Regions from separate parts of the Homo sapiens genome. Here region 2 is linked to region 1. Evidence: promoter capture Hi-C in 16 types of primary human blood cells and fetal thymus (Javierre and others, 2016). All regions are on one chromosome and are shown on one strand. Each heading gives the region's core, a stretch centred on a gene start or on the middle of the fragment in contact. The rest is flanking DNA. Distances are from core to core; before and after follow the strand shown. Region 1 holds the start of ARFGAP2 (ARF GTPase activating protein 2). Region 2 overlaps ATG13 (autophagy related 13).

Region 1 (4,623 bases), core at 26-2,525:
TGCTAGCTGGGCTCTGGGACCACACCATCCCCCTCAGTCCTTGACCCAGTTGCAGGAACAGGGCCTGGGCCAGGGCCACTGGCAGTGACCAATCCCCTTTCCCCCAGGGGAGGAGCTGCTGAAGATGAGTGAGGAGGACGAGCAGGGCTGGTGCCAAGGCCAGTTGCAGAGTGGCCGCATTGGCCTGTACCCTGCCAACTACGTGGAGTGTGTGGGCGCCTGAGTGTCCTGACAGCCCTTCTGCAACGTTTACCCACCCTGGTTCAGAGCCCAGCTTCTCCTGGAGAGCCGGACCCTCAGGGCCCTGAACCGTCGCTCTCTGGCTGCTCCTCTGTCCCTTGAGGGAGGAAGTCCTGGGACCCAGGGAGGGGAGGGGCCTTTGTCTAGGGAAGGGACTGGTAGGGAAGGGACGAGTCTAGGCTGAGGGCAAGATGGGAGGTCAGAGGTGACAGAAGCGTTCAGGGGTGCCTGGGCCTCCCCAGGAGCTGTGGACTCAGTTCCTGACCTCTGCTTTGGGGTTCCTGGGGTGGGCTTGGGGTGAGTGTAGTTCTGGCCTAGCAGCACCCTCTTGTGGCTTGTTCTAGCGTGTATTAAAACTTGACACACACCCACACACAAAAACAAAAACACCACTGTCGGGCTCATGTGCATTTTTTTGATAGGACACCCTTGCCAGGCCACCAGAGGGCATCTAGAGAGAGGCCTAGCGTCTGTTATGGGGCCGGGGTTGGAAAAGGGTTTGCCTGCTTGGTACCTGCTCTGGAACTTCGAGATACTAATCTGGAGTGGAGGGGACTCGCTGTCAGGCTTGCTGTTAACCGAGAACGGCTGAAGGCTGGGCGAGACGCGGGCCAATGCGTCTGCCCGTTCGGGCCGGAGGGACGAGGAGTGTTTGGGCAGCCTAATCCTTATTCATCGATCTGTAATTAGCTGGAGTGGGGGTCCCCGCCCCCAGCCTCCCGCAGCCTGCGCGGCGTGGGGGCGACTCCACCTGGGGGTTGCGGCGTGGGAGGGGCGGGGGGAAGGGTACTACGCGCGCGAGGAGGTTTGGGCCGGTCCGCGCGCCGTCGCCCCGCCCCGGCTGCGGATTGGCCCGGCGCGGCGTTGATTCTTGCGGCCGCGGTTGTCGTCGCCGCCCCCGTCCCGCCGGCTGCCCATTGGTCCAGATCGGACTCCAATCACCCCACCCCTCGGCTGGCCCAGGCACCGCTGAGGCCGGCCTGGTGAGCCCGCCCTCCCCGCCGTGGATTGGCCCGCGGCGGGACCCGTCAGCCGCGGTTGTGTCTGGGAAGGAGAGAAAATGGCGGCGGAGCCGAACAAGACCGAAATCCAGACTCTTTTTAAGAGGCTTCGCGCAGTTCCAACCAACAAGGTGCGTGAGCAGGGGGCGCGCGGAGTCTCTCGTCCCGCTGGGGCCTGAGGGAGGGAGAAGGGCGGAGGTGGGTTATGTTTCTGGGGTGTCGGTGCCTGGCCTTTACTCGGGGCCCCTGACGATTCGCTCATCGCCGCCTCCACCCAGGCCTGTTTCGACTGCGGCGCCAAGAATCCGAGTTGGGCCAGCATCACGTACGGTGTTTTCTTGTGCATTGACTGTTCCGGGGTGCACCGCTCCCTGGGCGTCCATCTGAGCTTCATCAGGTAGGCTCTCCGCGCGGTTGCCGTGTTTCCACCCGGCCGGCCAGGGGTGTCTGGGCAACAAGGGAGAGTGGCTGCCTCGACTTGGGCCGCTCTGAATTCGGTGGGAAGCCTCTGGGCCGAGAGGGTCCGGTAGCCTCCTGCCAGAGGGAACCACCTGTGTGGGCCCTTTGGCACATGGGCGGTCCGTCTCCGCCTCTGGGCCAAAACTTCCTCTTTTTTGACGGTCAGGCTTGAGACTCTGAGCGTTAGTTGAGGGGAAAGGGAGGCATTGACCTTGTTGTTGCTGATATGTTGTTAGACCAGTATGTCTCTAGTGAGACTGTGACCATCCATTAGGGGAAAGCCAAATCCAGGCGTGCGTGCCTGAGAATGTGACCTCCTTTCGGATCTGGGGACATAATTAGTACTCTTTGGAGTAAATGAACGAAGAGGAGAGTTTTCATGGACAGGGTAGTGTGGAGGAAATGGGGTGATGGCTGATTAATGTTTCCTGGGTGCCTACAGCAGCCTGAGGCCAAGTGACAGGTATCCGGGTTGCCAGGGAAATCCTGCTGGTATCTGCTAGTGGGTGAGACGCAGCCCTTGTACACAGGTCCACAGAGTTGGATTCCAACTGGAACTGGTTCCAGCTGAGGTGTATGCAGGTCGGCGGGAATGCCAATGCGGTAAAGCTCCTTCTACTTCCCTCACCTTCCATTCTTCTGCCTGGTTACTAACTTTGCACGACTCCCTAAGAGGCCCTGTCGTTTTCCCTGTTCAGAGGGTTCTCTGTTCTATAACACCACCATAAGCTATTTTCTGAAAACTTCGAAACTGGTCACAGCTTCTCTTAAATGGGTTTCAGATTCCAATTAAACTGGGCAGGTGTTCTTGGGGAAAAGCCACAGGAGTTGGGAGCCTTCACAGTCATTGGGTCTTGTGGGCCTGCCCTGGATGAAGGATGGGGAGGCTGGGTATGGGATGTTGTGCTCAGGCAGCGTTCAGTGGGGCCTGGACTTCAGTCATATCAGAGGATGGCCCGCTGCAAGGTGTTTTTTGCAGGAATTTCGAGAAACTTTATCTCTGAAAAACCGGTGTCAGTAGCGTGTATCATCCTGTATAGATAATAACTTCGCTGTCATAAGGAGATGTCTCCTACAGCCAACACGTTTCCTTCTTGAGAATCACCCGTAGCACGCGCTGCTCTCTTCTTTGCTCTCCAGACGGCTTTTTTTCGCCAACATGGATGCACAGCCAATGATGCCAACACCAAATATAATAGCCGAGCTGCCCAGATGTACCGGGAGAAGATCCGGCAGCTGGGGAGTGCGGCCCTGGCTAGGCATGGCACTGATGTAAGTGCCTGTTCTTGGGGCTGGGGCAGGAGGGTTAGGAGTATTCAGAGCCCTGTGTTTTAGGGGTGTCTTCTCCTTTCTAGCTTTGGATAGACAACATGAGTAGTGCCGTTCCTAATCACTCCCCAGAGAAGAAGGACTCTGATTTCTTCACAGAACACACTCAAGTGAGTGCCCACAAGGAACCGTTTTCCCAGTTGTTCTTGACAGGCAATTTACCAAGGCCCAGGCCTTCTGTGATCATGGTTGTAGATTCCATTTGCTTTGATGTGATGTCTTGGACACCACGTATGAAGTCCACTGTTCCTGCTGGGTAGGCCTAGGTGTTTCCTCCTCCATAAATGGAGGTGCAGTGTAGCCCTCCTTAGAAATCGACTCCTATAAATTGGGCTGGCGGGGAAGAGAGGCAGCTTCTTGAAGTTTCAAGAGGTGTCCGGTGCCCCAAACAAATTTTCCTGGATTCTTCCCCTATAAGAAAGGCACTGTGGGCCGGGCGCAGTGGCTCACGCCTGTAATCCCAGCACTTTGGGAGGCCGAGGCGGGTGGATCATGAGGTCAGGAGATCGAGACCATCCTGGCTAACAAGGTGAAACCCCGTCTCTACTAAAAATACAAAAAATTAGCCGGGCGCGGTGGCGGGCGCCTGTAGTCCCAGCTACTTGGGAGGCTGAGGCAGGAGAATGGCGTGAACCCGGGAAGCGGAGCTTGCAGTGAGCCGAGATTGCGCCACTGCAGTCCGCAGTCCGGCCTGGGCGACAGAGCGAGACTCCGTCTCAAAAAAAAAAAAAAAAAAAAAAAAAAAAAAAAAAAAAAAGGCACTGTGCTTGGGGACAGTGAAAGGATTCTCTCCTCCCCGCCCCACCCCTTTGAGGAGGGTTTCCTCTTTACTGGCCCTGGGTGCTGAAGTTAGACTCTTGGCTTCAATTCCTGTTCTCTACTCCGCATTCCTGTGATGGTGGCCAAGTCACTCAACCTGTCAAAACCTCAGTTTCTAAAATGGCGATGTAGCTCCTTCATAGGGGTTGTAGTGATAATTAAATATATTCATATATGAGGAGCCTTTAGATCTGTGCCTGCCTAGGTGGTGGTAGTTAACTGTCTTTAAGTTAGGAGAATGGGCTCTGGCTCTAAGTAAATAGTGAAGGGGTTGGGGTGGGGGCTGCTTGTCTTCCTGCTTTCTTCCACAGTGAATAGCAACTGTGATCTTGTTTGCTACCCTCCAGTCCCTTTCCTCATGGGTTTGGAGTATGATTTCTTGTCCACAAGGTGCTTGTAGGTCTTGGTGCTTCTTGCCAGCAGGAGTGGCTCACCGAGGCATCTGTGATCTGGCCTCCTTTTCAGCCCCCTGCCTGGGATGCGCCAGCCACTGAGCCTTCAGGGACCCAGCAGCCAGCCCCGTCTACAGAGAGCAGTGGCCTGGCACGTGAGTTCAGCCCAGATTCCAACCAGGTGCCCTGGTCCTAGGAGAGGACTCAGGGTTTGGAAGGGGACATCTGGCCATGACAATAGGAGCAGGGGTCCTCCTGTATCTTTGGGTGGGCCGGGATTCATTTTAATCCTTGGAGGAAGTGGTAGATATTCCTTTTATCTTTTGGTGGCAAGCTGAGGAAAGCCACCGATTCTTGTCCCATCACTTCTTTCAAGGGGAGGT
Region 2 (4,567 bases), core at 105-2,604, 520 kb after region 1:
GTTTCATTTCCAATTTTTCAAAATTCTTGTTGTTCATCAGAAACATTTAACATCCTCACTGTAGAAAATTAGGAAAATATACAGTTTTATAAAGAGTAAGAAAGAAGACTGAGTTCCTGGAACTTTGGGAAAAATTATTTGGTTACCCTGGCAGATCAGGGGTAACCTGGACCACCTACCTGCATTCTCATCTTTTCTTTACTTGTATTATGCATATTAAGATGACAATCTACATATTATAACAAGTAGAAACGAAGATCATCTCTGAAGTTAGGAGAGCTCTGAACACTACGATGTTTTTCAACCGTTGATACATACCTTCTCCTAAGCCACTCAGCTGAACTTCTCCAAAATATATCCTGTATGGAAGAAAAAATAAGAAATGTTACCTGATTCTTTACTCCTAAGGGCCTCTATAGCCAAAACACGTAGAAACAAAATAAAACAAAGCCTTCCTTACTCATCTGCTCAAATACCTCTGCTGATGGAGCATTAGTAATTCCTACTACTTCAATTAAGCTACAGGCATGGAGACGTACAGAGTGGGTTGGTTAAAAAATAAGGAAAATAAGGCCAGGCACAGTGGCTCATGCCTGTGATCCCAGCACTTCGGGAGGATCACTTGAGGCCAGGAGTTCAAGACCAGTCTGGGCAACACAGCAAGACCCTGCATTGACAAAAAATAATTTTGCCGGGTGTGATGGTGCATGCCTGGAGTACCAGATAACTGGGAGGCTGAGGTGGGAGGATCACTTAAGCCCAGGAAGTTGACGCTGCAGTGAGCCAAGATTGCACCATTGCATTCCAGCCTGGGCAAAAGGATGAGACGCTGTCTCAAAAAAAGAAATGAGGAAAATAATAATTAAGTGGAAACTGCTATTTAAGTTTCTTCTCTCTGCTACTAAAATGTATTTTAAAATTATACCTACTGAGAAATAAAGAATATATAAATAAAAGTGGCCAACAGGTCTAGGATTGCTACTAGAAGGCACTGGTTTTGTTTTGTTTTGTTTTGTTTGAGACGGAGTCTTGCTCTGTCACCCAGGCTGCAGTGCAGTGGCATGATCTCGGCTCACTGCAACCTCCAGCCTCCTGGGTTCAAGCGATTCTCCTACCTCAGCCTCCCAAGTAGCTGGGATTACAGACGCATGCCACCACGCCCGGCTGTTTTTTTGTTTGTTTGTTTTGCTTTTTGAGACTGAGTCTCACTCTGTCGCCCTGGCTGGAGTGCAGTGGTGCAATCTCGGCTCACTGCAAGCTCCGCCTCCCAGGTTCATGCCATTCTCCTGCCTCAGCCTCCCGAGCAGCTGGACTACAGGTGTCCGCCACCGCGCCCGGCTAATTTTTTGTATTTTTAGTAGAGACGGGTTTTCGCCGTGTTAGCCAGGATGGTTTCGATCTCCTGATCTCGTGATCCGCCCGTCTCAGCCTCCCAAAGTGCTGGGATTACAGGCGTGAGCCACTGCGCCCGGACCTGTTTTTTGGTTTTTTTTGAGACAGTGTCTCGCTCTGTCGCTCAGGCTGGAGTGCAATGGCACCATCTTGGCTCACTGCAACCTCCACCTCCTGGACTCAAGCGATTCTTGTGCCTCAGCCTCCCAAATGGCTGGCACTACAGGTATGCGCTACCATGCCTGGCTAATTTTTGTATTTTTGGTAGAGACAGGGTTTCGCCACATTGCCCAGGCTGGTCTTGAACTCCTGAGCTCAAGTGATACACCCGCCGTAGCCTCCCAAAGTGCTGGGATTACAGGTGCAAGCCACCATGCCTGGCCTGTTTTTCGGGTTTTTTAAAAATAATTTTTGGTAGAGACAGGGTCTAACTATTGCCCAGGCTGGTTGCAAACTCCTGGCCTCAACTGTTTTTTTTGAGACAGGGTCTCAGTGTGTTGCCCATGCTGGAGTGCAGTGGTATGACCACTGCCCACTGCAGCCTCAACCTCCTGGGCTCAAGAGATCCTCTCACCTCAGTCTCCTAAGCAGCTGGGACTACAGGCACGTGCCACCACACCCAGCTAAGTTTTTTTATTTCTAGTATAGACAGGGTCTCGGTGTGTTGCCCAGGCTGGTATCGAACTCCTGAACTCAAGCGATCCTCCCACCTCATTCTCCCAAAGTGCTGGGATTACAGGTGTGAGCCACTGCCCCTGGTCCTGGCCTCAAATTATTCTCCCACTTCAGTCTCCCAAAGTGCTGGGATCACAGGCATGAGCCACCATACCTGACCAGAATGTACTAGAGTTTGATAAGTGGTCTTTAGTTGTGGGAAGCTCTCTTTTACATATATATATATATATATATATATATAAAATTTTAAAAATAGTAGTGATGAGGTCTTGCCATGTGACCCAGGCTGGTCTGAAACTCCGGGGCTCAAGCAATCCTCCCACCTCAGCCTCCCAAAGTGCTGGGATTACAGGTGTGAGCCAACTGTGCCTGGCCATGAAGAAATCTCTAAGTAGATGGCTTAACAAAGCAGGAAATCTTTTCCACCGTGGAATAATGAACTAGGTAAGACTATTCTGAAAAAAAAAAATAAAAACATAAACACAGTGGAACCTTCCTATGATTCTCCCTGGACAGGCCAGTCTATATTAGCAAAAAGTTTGAATTCAAAATACCTAAAATCTATTTTCATATTTTTCAAGTAATATTGTTAAAATTAAATATACACATGGGTTTATTCAATAAATACTAAGCTCCAACAATGTATGAAGAAGCTTCGCCAGGCGCGGTGGCTCACGCCTGTAATCCCAGCACTTTGGGAGTCTGAGGCGGGTGGATCATGAGGTCAGGAGATCGAGACCATCCTGGCTAACATGGTGAAACCCCGTCTCTACTAAAAATACAAAAAATTAGCCGGGCGTGGTGGCGGGTGCCTGTAGTCCCAGCTACTCGGGAGGCTGAGGCAGGAGAATGGCGTGAACCTGGGAGGCGGAGCTTGCAGTGAGCCGAGATTGTGCCATTGTACTCCAGCCTGGGCAACACAGCGAGACTCCGTCTCAAAAAACAAAAAAAAAAAAAAGAAGCTTCATGGTTAGATGTTAGGAATGAAATAAGGATAAATCTGAATCCTAGGTCTTACAGACTACAGTTTTGTATGAAAGAAAAGAAATGTAGCTGGACATGGTGGCTCACGCCTGTAATCCCAGCACTCTGGGAGGCCGAGGTGGGCGGATCAATTGAGGTCAGGAGTTCAAGACCAGCCTGGCCAGCATGGTGAAACCCCATCTCTAATTAAAATACAAAAATTAGCCAGGCGTGGTGGTGCATGCCTATTAATCCCAGCTACTTGGAAGGCTGAGGCACGACAATCACTTGAACCAAGGAGGTGGAGGTTGCAGTGAGCCAAAATCGTGCCACTGCACAGCCTAGGTGAGCAAGACTCCACCTCAAAAAAAAAAAAAAAAAGAAAAGAAATGAAATGTATGTAAATATCTGAAATACAAAGCACAAAAGTACTACAGATACGACAGACAAAAGATACTAAAAAAGCAGGGATCAGCAAACCTTTCTGTAAAGGACCAAATGGTAACTATTTTAAGATTGTGGGCCGTATAGGCTATAACAAATACTCAGCTTTCTGTTGTATTGCAAAAGTAGCCATAGACAATATGTAAACAAAGGGGATGGCTGTGTCCTAAAAAAACTTTTTTTATAAAAACAAGCAGATGGTCGGCTGACCATAGTTTAGTGACTCCTGCCATAAAGTAATATAGGAACAATGTTAATAAAGTGTTGGTAAAAGAGATCTTGCTAAGTAAATACCCTTTAAGGCCTTTAACAAGAAGCTGAGACTCAGGCAGTTCACTATTCATGTAAATACTGATACAGTGCTTAAAATTTGCTAAACTTTTTCTTGGCAATGTGTATTTTTTTGAGACAGAGTCTTGCTCTGTCACCCAGGCTGGAGTGCAGTGGTGTGATCATGGCTCACTGAAGCCTTGACCTTCTGGACCCAAGCAATCCTCCCTCAGCCTCCTGAGTAGCTGGGACTACAGATGTGAACCACCACACCTGGCTAATTTTTTACATTTTTAGTAGAGACAAGGTATCACTATGTTGCCCAGGCTGGTCTCGAACTCCTGACCTCAGGTGATCCTCCTGCCTCGGCCTCCCAAAGTGCTGGGATTATAGGCGTGAGTCACTACACCTGGTCAAGACTATTCTTTAATGGTATCACGCTGTTAACCTTCTAACAACAGTATAAAAAGCAGGTGGAAAAGCCAAGTCTACCTCTGAGATCACCCACATCTCTAGATCTAAGCTACAGTTATTTGTATCCAAAAGCACTCCTAAATGATCAACATCCTGTGAGCAGCACTAGTTTGTTTGGGTTTTTTTGAGATACAGTATAGCCCTGTCACCCAGGCTGGAGTGCAGTGGTGTGATCTTGGTTCCCTGCAACCTCCGCCTCCTGGGTTCAAGTGATTCTCATGCCTCAGCCTCCCGAGTAGCTGGGATTACAGGAGCGTGCCACCCTGCCCAGCTAATTTTTTGTATTTTTAGTAGAGACAGTGTTTCGCTATGTTGTCAGGCTTGTCTCGAACTCCTAACCTCAAGTGAC

What was found. The method cuts DNA at HindIII sites, captures the fragments that hold promoters and counts their contacts. A CHiCAGO score of 5 or more calls a contact.
Region 2: a contact is called between a fragment that was not itself captured here and the fragment with the promoter of ARFGAP2 in region 1, in 1 of 17 cell types (megakaryocytes). The highest score is 5.4, in megakaryocytes.

What each region holds. Positions count from the first base shown.
Region 1 is chr11:47,173,531-47,178,153 of GRCh38, reverse strand. It overlaps ARFGAP2 (ARF GTPase activating protein 2), which reads left to right and starts at 1,275. Exons shown (of 16, transcript NM_032389.6): 1 at 1,275-1,372; 2 at 1,520-1,638; 3 at 2,231-2,303; 4 at 2,841-2,972; 5 at 3,056-3,139; 6 at 4,314-4,395. The coding sequence starts at 1,301. It overlaps PACSIN3 (protein kinase C and casein kinase substrate in neurons 3), which reads left to right. Exons shown (of 11, transcript NM_016223.5): 11 at 108-632. The coding sequence ends at 223. RefSeq lists enhancers at 148-197, 278-327, 175-756, 1,298-1,527 and a silencer at 818-1,247. The HindIII fragment of the contact is 14,588 bases long and covers 1-4,623 here.
Region 2 is chr11:46,652,025-46,656,591 of GRCh38, reverse strand. ATG13 (autophagy related 13) reads right to left here. Exons shown (of 19, transcript NM_001346311.2): 8 at 319-359. Among named protein-coding and RNA genes, the nearest start is that of ATG13, 37 kb to the right of the region's middle. The HindIII fragment of the contact is 2,737 bases long and covers 1-2,722 here.